Regions from separate parts of the Homo sapiens genome. Here region 2 is linked to region 1. The links are contacts of gene promoters, found by promoter capture Hi-C in human tissues and cell types (Jung and others, 2019). All regions are on one chromosome and are shown on one strand. The core of a region is centred on a gene start or on the middle of the fragment in contact, and the rest is flanking DNA. Distances in the headings are between cores, read along the strand shown.

What was found. Contacts are between HindIII fragments. The study calls those that stand out against the background at their distance.
Region 2: a contact is called between a fragment that was not itself captured here and the fragment with the promoter of PKP2 in region 1, in 2 of the 25 tissues and cell types used here (mesenchymal stem cells and thymus).

Annotation. Positions count from the first base shown.
Region 1 is chr12:32,894,376-32,898,922 of GRCh38, reverse strand. PKP2 (plakophilin 2) reads left to right here and starts at 2,146. Exons shown (of 13, transcript NM_001005242.3): 1 at 2,146-2,414. The coding sequence starts at 2,192. RefSeq lists silencers at 1,738-1,837, 2,038-2,147. The HindIII fragment of the contact is 8,511 bases long and covers 1-4,547 here.
Region 2 is chr12:32,743,871-32,748,417 of GRCh38, reverse strand. DNM1L (dynamin 1 like) reads right to left here. Exons shown (of 20, transcript NM_012062.5): 20 at 2,768-4,547. YARS2 (tyrosyl-tRNA synthetase 2) reads left to right here. Exons shown (of 5, transcript NM_001040436.3): 5 at 1,055-1,874. The coding sequence ends at 1,214. Among named protein-coding and RNA genes, the nearest start is that of YARS2, 9.8 kb to the left of the region's middle. The HindIII fragment of the contact is 6,792 bases long and covers 1-4,547 here.

The DNA.
Region 1 (4,547 bases), core at 897-3,396:
TTATTGCTCCCATTTATAGATAAGAGAATGTACAGAGTTATAAAAATCTAAAAAAACTTGCTTGTGGCCATATACTTACAAGGGGTAAGCTAAGGTTAAAACCTAGATTTTCCTCACTCACAAGCTGTGCTTTTAATCACCTTCCCTCCCCTCAAATCACCTAACAATCCAACAACAAGATTTCTATGTGCCCAATTATTGGTACCTACCCAACAGGATAATCAATTCCAACAACACACTTTAAAAAAATTAATTTGAGAGGAAAAAAGTATCTGAGGTTTGGCTCATTAAAATAAATGAGAAAAATTCCTCTCTAGTCTCCTGGTGAGGAATCTAATTGGAGGCAGAGCTGACATTTTAAGTCATGGCTCTTCAGGTACAAAATAACAAGGAATGCCCCAACTGACCCTGTATGGACAGATACTGAAATTGTCTCTCAAAGCAGCAGATTCTGGTCTGCCAGAAGAGGCCATGAAAAGAGAGAGAGAGAGAGAGAGAGAGAAACAGGAATGTTGCTGGACGTTTCTATCATCACTTACCTTCAGTTCACCCCTCTCTTTTCAATTACATCTCAGCATCATGGTTGGATGTTTCCACCTGGCTACATAAGCAAGCTTTACACAAGGTGTAATTTGCCTAAATAGTGGTCCATTCTATTGGGGTGGGAGCAATTGCTTCCAGGACTCACATCCATATGGCTCCCACTTAGCCATGTGGCCTGCTGACAAAGGGTGGCGGAACTGTCACTACTCTGTTGTCCACGCTTTCAGTCCTTTGGTTTCCTCTTCACTCCCTGGACGCTCATGTAAAAAGGGAGGCCATATACCTGTGCATTGTGTGTCTAAGCATTCAGTGTGTGTCTAAAGGCAGAAGGGTGTGGGTAGGAAAACAAAGACGAGGGAAGCTGCGTTCTCCAAACACTTCAGACTTGAGTAAGTGGGGTTTTGCAGCAATTGAGTGATTTGAGGGAAAGTGAACATACAAACCCAAGCAATCAAAGGGAATATTATCTTAATACCAGGGATACATGTTTTTCTTTCTGCCTCTTAAGTCCAAAGAGGCAAATCAGGACAAGTGGCTTTGGTTGTAAACTTTAAGGTCAAGGATCCTTTCTGTTGAGCTTAGCTCTCAAGTTCTCAGTAGTCAACTGCGGTGAAACATAATTAATAGCACGATAAATACAAGTTGTGGAAGATTCGATTGAAAGTTGGAGGCCCTCTCCGTGGATCTCTCTACAAAGAGCCTGTAATAAAGAGGACTTAATCAACGTTAGCAGGGCTATTTAAAAAGCATCGTCTATTAAAATTCATTTCTTCTCTAGAGCCTCTTGTTGGAGTTTCTCTGTGTGGGTGTGTTCGTAAGAGAGGAATGGGTTAGCAAGAGTACTGGGTACAATTTGTGTATCCAAGAGAAAACAGAAGCTCTCAATGAGGAAGAACATATGTTTCTGGGACTGCATCTGTGCAAAAAGTACATAGTCCTGACGTTGTACTAAGAAAAAAAACACTCTCTTTAGAAAGTCTTTTATTTCACACGTTATCTTCTTGGCACATTTCCCTCATATTGCCCTTTCCGCCTGACCAAATAGCCCTTTCTCACCCTCAGGTCCAGGAAAACCAGGAAACGTTTCCAACAGTGCGACAAAGCCTGACTAACCAGACATACTACTCGCTCGGGGATCCCGGAGGCAAGCCTCAGTCCAAGAACAGGAGTGACTCTCGAGGGCTCACCTGCCTGCAGGGCAGCCCCTCCCTGCATCGAGCGGAAATCCATCCTGTCCAGCGCGGGGCGTGGGCAGAGCGGGGCGCGGCCCCGGCAGGCGGTATCCGCTGGGACTCCGACAACGTGCGCGACCCCAGGCGAACCGCGCCCCTCTCCCCACCTCCCCGCGGGCGGGTACAAGTCTCCAGGTGTCCGCGCGCTCAGCGGGTCCGGCCCGCCCCCGCCCCCGCCCCCGGGCCCGACTGCGCGTGCCCGGCCGGAGCCGCGCCCCCTCCTCAGGGAAGGCCGGGCGTCCGGCCCACGAGGCCGAGCTCCCCCCCGGCCCGGGCCTCTCACCGGCGCGGGGGGCGGGCCAGGGGCGGGGCCGGACTCGAGCGGGGCGGGGCTCGCGCCAGCGCCCCCAGCTCCGTGGCGGCTTCGCCCGCGAGTCCAGAGGCAGGCGAGCAGCTCGGTCGCCCCCACCGGCCCCATGGCAGCCCCCGGCGCCCCAGCTGAGTACGGCTACATCCGGACCGTCCTGGGCCAGCAGATCCTGGGACAACTGGACAGCTCCAGCCTGGCGCTGCCCTCCGAGGCCAAGCTGAAGCTGGCGGGGAGCAGCGGCCGCGGCGGCCAGACAGTCAAGAGCCTGCGGATCCAGGAGCAGGTGCAGCAGACCCTCGCCCGGAAGGGCCGCAGCTCCGTGGGCAACGGTGAGTGGAGCCCGCCGCTCCCCGGCGCCGCCCCCTGCCCCACACCCGGTCACCTCCTCCTATCCCGCCCTCACCCCGCGTGCTGGGAGTGCGGGACCCCGTGTTCTGCCCACCTGTTGCTCGCCGTCTTCGGTATGACCGACTTGCTTGTGGAAAGCACTCTTTTCCATAACCTATTACTCAGCTTTGTCATATAGGTACCTATGTATATTAAATATTGTACATATCTATCAATGTTAACTAACTCACTTCAAGATTTCACCCCTTTCTTTTTCTACTCCGCCGGTCCGCGCCCCTCACTGGTGCGGACTTAATTTGAAGGTTCAGGGAGTCTATAAACACCTTGAGATGCTATGCAGAATTTTTGGTGTGTACGATCTTTTTCTGGGAGAAGGAGCCCTTCAATTTTATTAGATTTGTTAAATAATTAATGACCCCCATAAATATCTTGGGGAAAAAAACCGACAGCACTGGCGCTCCTACAACCTATAAATTGGGATTGTGCTGTCTTATGCAAGTACTTCGGGGCGCTCCACCCTGTGTGGGAGGCGAGTGGTGGATCTAGGGAGTGAAGAAAAGTAGTTAGGAGGCTTTGGTCCAGGGAACAAACACGCCGAGGAGGAGGTAGGGGACTTTGGCCCTGCCGGCAACAGCCGTGCCCGCCTAGCTGCGCTTCCTACCCCCACCAGTGCGGGCGTGATGCAAGTCTGATCCCTCCAAAAAATTAAACCCGAAGGTGAAAGGGGTGTAAGCACACACATGCACACTATGTTCATGATTGATAGACGGGGGAGGTGGAAGGGAAAGAAGATGGCAAGCCACTTGTGAAAATTAGAGATCATGATGTATCCTTTTCTCCCCTGCTGAAGTCAGGTGATGGGATCAACTCAGTGACCCTTGTTTTACTTCTTGTTGCTGTGTATGTGAGTTTGCATTATAAAAGCACTATGTTGGCTTATAGCAAAAAGAAGAGGAAAGAAATTGAGCAATTAAGTTGGAATATCTGTTTCCTGCAACGTTCAGTTGTTTCTGTATGAAGTAACTTGGGCATTGGCGAATGTAGGCTAACCCATTCTAGTTTCTATTAGGAAAACAGAAAAATTCTAACAGGCCAGACCAGAGATTTCAAACAGCAGAGTCTGGGAGGCTGTACTGTGTGTGTAAAAGAATCCTAAAGGATGACGTAGTCAATATTAACATACTTGAAAGGTAAAGAGAAGATGTTCAATGATCGTAGTTAATATAACTGAGTGCATACTATGTGCCAAGAATTGGGCGATGTGGTTTGCATTCATTTGAGATATATATATATATATGTATTTAAAAACTTGTGAGTTAGGTATTTTCATCCTCATTTTACAGATGAGGAAACTAAGCAGTTAAGTAACACTGAAGCTCTAATAGATGGTAAGTGGCAGAGCTGGTATTTAAACTCCCAAACCTGAATTTTAAACTTATCAGTTTTATCATTAAGTTTTAAAATGATTAATACAAAGTGGGATTTGTTAGATGCTAAGCCTCTCCGTGGCCCCCTCCCATTTTTCTTTAAATAAAATTGAGGAAGTTCTGAAAGGCTGGGGAGGTCTAGAAAACACAGAACTGCTGCAATACATGGAGGGAAAGACCTTATATTTATTTAGACTTAGGGGTCTGACTAAAGACTGCGGGATGAGTGAGGCCAGTCTTTGAAAAGTGGAGCCATTACACCCATTCATTCTCTGTGCCCATAGGTCCAGTGCTAAACTGAAACCAAATCAGCTTCCCCTGCGTAGGAGACACAGGAGGCATATTAGATATTCTTTCTTATCCTCTGAGAATGGCCAGCTAGGAAGAGAGCAAGCAGATACAACTCTTCCATAAATGGAGGGAATGGAGCCATGAACAGAAGAAAAGGGAATGTTGCTGAGCATCTACTATGTGCCTATTCCAGAATCTTCATTATATTCTTGAAACAATTGCTGAGATAGATATGAGAATCCATCTCACATATGAAGTATGTGTCTGTCAGCAATGGTTGGAAATTTAATCCCAACTCCACACATAATCTGTTCTTTCTACAAAGTAATGCATCACCTGTGTGATGAATTCAGCAAGCATCAAATGAGTATGTTCTTCATGCCGGGCGCTGTGCAG
Region 2 (4,547 bases), core at 918-3,417, 150 kb after region 1:
ACATGATCTGGAAACTAGCAGACAGCGTAAAATAATACTTCCTAAAAGAAAGGAATCTGGCCTTAAGTAGAAAATATTTTACTGATGAGTTTTATAAAACCATGTCCATGGCCAGGTATGGTGGCTCACATTTGTAATCCCAGCACTTCGGGAGGCTGAGGGCGGGAGGATTGCTTGGGGCCAGGAGTTCAAGATCTGTGTGGGCAAGGACGTAGTGAGACTCCGTCTCTACCCAAAAATAAAGGTATAAAAATATCTTTAAAACCATGTCCAGTAGTGGTTTCTTAATTTTATTTGGTAACATTCAGATGAGAGAAAACCACCATTTTTCTTTCTTAAGGACTTCCAAGATCTAGCCACGCTGTAGCCCTGTCTTCTCAGATCTCACCTCTTTCTAGCTGCTCCCATGTTTCCTGCCCTGATTGTCAAGGTAGCTTCACTCCCAGTTTAAGTATCTCTTTTTTCAGTGAAATGTTCAGCCCTCACCTACCCAGTGTGCTCCTAGAACAACTTCTCCTAGGTCTTTCTTTTTTTTTCTTGAGACGGAGTCTTTAAAAGAGCAGATTGCAAGGCGTAAATTCCGGCCAGACACAGTGGTTCACACCTGTAATCCCAGCACTTTGGGAGGCCAAGGCAGGTGGATCACTTGAGGTTGGGAGTTTGAGACCAGCCTGGCTAACATGGCGAAACCCATCTCTACTAAAAATACAAAATTAGCCAGGTGTGGTGGCATGCACCTGTAATCGCAGCTACTCTGGAGGCTGAGGCAGGAGAATCACTTAGAACACAGGAGGCGGAGGTTGCAGTGAGCTGAGATCATGCCAGCCTGGGCTACAGAGCAAGAATGTGTTTCAAAAACAAACAACAAAAAACAAAGAGCAGTAAAGAGAGGCAGAATCTATTAATAATAGAGCAAACATGAAGGTAACAGTCCAGTGCCAAATGAAATCTTCTCAATTGGAGAGCCTCTGAAATCTAAGTGAAACAGTCTTTTTTGGGGGACAGATCAACAGTGATTGGATCTCTCTACTTACTAAACGTTTCTATTTTTTAGGTATCGAATGATAACAGAAGGCGGAGTCAGCATAAATCACCAACAAGTAACAAATCCTGAGAGTGTTTTAATTGTTGGACAACATATTCTCAAGAATGGACTTTCCTTACTTAAAATAGGAAAAAGAAATTTCTACATTATAAAATGGCTTCAGTTGTGATGAAAAGTCCTTCTGGTTGTCCAAATAAACTTACCCATCATTCATTCTCAAGACCTCTGAAGGGTTGGCTCCAGAACTTAGACCTTTGCTTATGCAAATCAGAAAAACAGAATGGACTAGGACTCAGTGTGAGTAACTTCATTATTTTTATGGGCCGGTTAATAAATATTTGTTTAATAATGGGATGTTTTATTTTCTGATGTACAAAGCTTGATTACCATAGAAAACCATGATTTTCAGGGTTAATCTCTTTTTAAAATTATACTTCAGAAGAGAAAGAAATGCTGCTTTCCTATCTTACCCTTCCTGCTCTCCTTTTTGTAGTGATGAGGAACAATGAAAAAGAGGTAGTGTAAGGAATTGTGAGGCTGGGCATGGTGGCTCACACCTGTAATCCCAGCACTTCGGGAGGCCAAGGTGGGCAAATCGCTTGAGGCCAGGAGTTTGAGACCAGCCTGGCCAACAGGGCGAAACCCCGTCTCTACTGAAAATATAAAAATTAGCCAGATGTGGTTGCAGGCACCTGTAACCCCAGCTACTCAAGAGGCTGAGCTGCGAGAATCACTTGAACCCAGGAGATGGAGGTTGCAGTGAGCTGAGATCACGCCACTGCACTCCAGCCTGGGAGACAGCATGAGTAGTGAGTGAAACTCTGTCTCAAAAAAAAAAAAAAAAAAAAGGAATTGTAGCTGCTTTTCTATCAGGTATGGAGCACCGATGTCACTAATGTTATATAGTTGTTTATAAAATCATCAGGGCCTCTAGTGTCCACATTAGAAATGGGAAAACTAGTATTAGAAACTTTGAATAGAAATTTGATTTTTTTGTAGTTCAGAGAGCAAATGTAGTTCTTAAAAAGGAGAAAAAGTTAGATGAGGCCATGGTTGCTTTGAGAAATTACAGTAAGTAGTTTCTTTACAAATAATAGTACAAAAATCAGTACGTGACTTTTCAGAAAGTTTCTAATTCAGTTTTCTGGTTCCTTGCCTGTGTTCCAGTATAATTCTGTTCACATTAAGCCTTGTTGTCAGTGGATTCCTAAGGTAGCAATGTTTTATAAATTTAGAAACTTAAATTGGTTTTAAGTTTCAGCTTTTCCCCCCAAGCAGATTGCAACTTGAGGTAAATTAAAAAGTTAACCCCCCAAAAATAAAGCCAATTATACCAAATATGCAATCATATGAGAATATCAAAAAGTATCCAGGTAAGGAAAGTTTTCAGGTCAAACTTAAAGGATTTGGAATCAAGACTGAGTTCAGCTCTTCAAACATGAGGCAAATTAATTCTCCAGAACTATTTCCATATCTGAAAAATCAAGGCAATGGCATCCCTGTTGCCTTGAGGATCAAGTGAATCACATACGAAATGATTAATCAGATTTCTTTTGAAAACCTTACAGGCAGCAGAGCATGGCTTTAGTGTTCAAATTCTAGCCATTTACTACCTGGATTACTTGGAGCAAGTCACTGTCTTCATACGCAAAAATGGAGATGTTATAATACCTTGGTGAACTGTCAGAATCTGGTAGGAAAAAAGTCGTAAAATTTTTCGTACTCTATACGGTTATGTTCCAAAGTAGATTAGGTATTAAAAAGCTCCTTTTGTCTCCCTTTCTCTGGGAGAAAAGTTAAGAATTCATTTTTTGACAAACTTTAGTGTCATTTCATACCAGCAATTTTATTTACACAATAAGAACATACAGGTATCGTCAGAGATCATCTCTACATTTCAGATCTTGACTCAGTTTAAGGGCCAACAAAGGAAGGCTTTTCTCTTTCCGTTGTTTCTTGCCTCTGTTTTTTGTTGTACAAAGTGTGTAGTACTAGCAAGTGCATTACCATAGCATGTCTTTAATTTTCAATTTGAAATCTGATGTGCTGGAGAAAAGTGCATCGTAAGTTTTTGTTTTTGTTTTTTTTCCCCTTACAAATTCAAAGGACTAGAATAATGATAGTCATCTGGAAAAAGTAAATCATGAATGGCTATAATTTTGAAACTGATGCTTAATGATGGCAGTGATTTTTAAGTGTGGTAACAAACGTTTTGGGAGCATGTATCCTCTGTCAAGATGGTACTAGTAACAGATTCAAAGTAGTACCATATCGTATCAGACTGATGTGGGGGTTTTTATGTTTGACATCAGTTGGTGAGCCTGTTGTTCCTTAGTAAATTGATGCCATAAGCTAAAGTTAACATATTCATATTTTCCCTGCCAATAGTCCTTCATAAATACCTGGTCATAAACTGAAAAAAAAGTAATATCTGCAATATAAATGTGTTGTCTATTAGAGACGGGGCTAGATGTCTTAAGGATTTCTAAGTACATCTTAAAATTTATAATATAGTCGTTCATACCAAGAATCATCTGGGGAATTTTAACAAAATATGTATATGTTCTAAACCTCATCACTACCCCATAAATGCAGCTTAGGTCTGTAAGTCTGAAGGAGTATGTGTATCTATCTGGGTGTTGTTTTATTTTTTTTTTTTGAGACGGAGTTTCGCTCTTGTTGCCAAGGCTGGAGTGCAATGGCACGATCTTAGCTCACCACAACCTCCACCTCCCAGGGTCAAGCAATTCTCCTGCCTCACCCTCCCGAGTAGCTGGGATTACAGGCATGCGCCACCACGCCCGGCCAATTTTGTATTTTTAGTAGAGACGGGGTTTCTCCATGTTGGTCAAGCTGGTCTCCAACTCCCAACCTCAGGTGATCCACCTGCCTCGGCCTCCCAAAGTGCTGGGATTACAGGCGTGTGCCACCACGCCCAGCCTTGGGTGTTTTTCTTTCAGCTCCTCCAGTACTTTCATACTATTCTAATAAATATATTTTGTTGGTATGAAGCTATGAAGCAAAAGTAGCTATTACCAATGCATACATACAGTACACTGGTTTTAAGTTCCACCTCAAAGTGAATCTTAGAGCCTGGTGTAAGTGCTCCACTTTAGAGATGTACCTTAATTACTACTGTATTTGCAAATTAAGGGAAATTTAGGTCATCATTTGATTTTCTGAAATCTAAAAGGAACTGACCATCATTACCAAGTCTTTCTAGATAATCAAGGGTAGATGGCTGTTTTTAATGTAGGAATTAATGTAGGCATTCCTGCTTTCAGGTTTAAGTATGAATCAAAGCATATTTTAATTTGCTAGTGCAAATGGACCCAGAATTGGAAGGGCTATGTAACTACACAGTATGCACACCACAGCCATGTCAGTGTCACAGATCCTCTTGTGCATTCAGCTTTCTTAAAAACACATCAAAGGCTGCAAAGAAGCTCAGAAAAAACTAAATTGAAGGACAGGTGGAATACAATGACTCTATGTGAGGAAC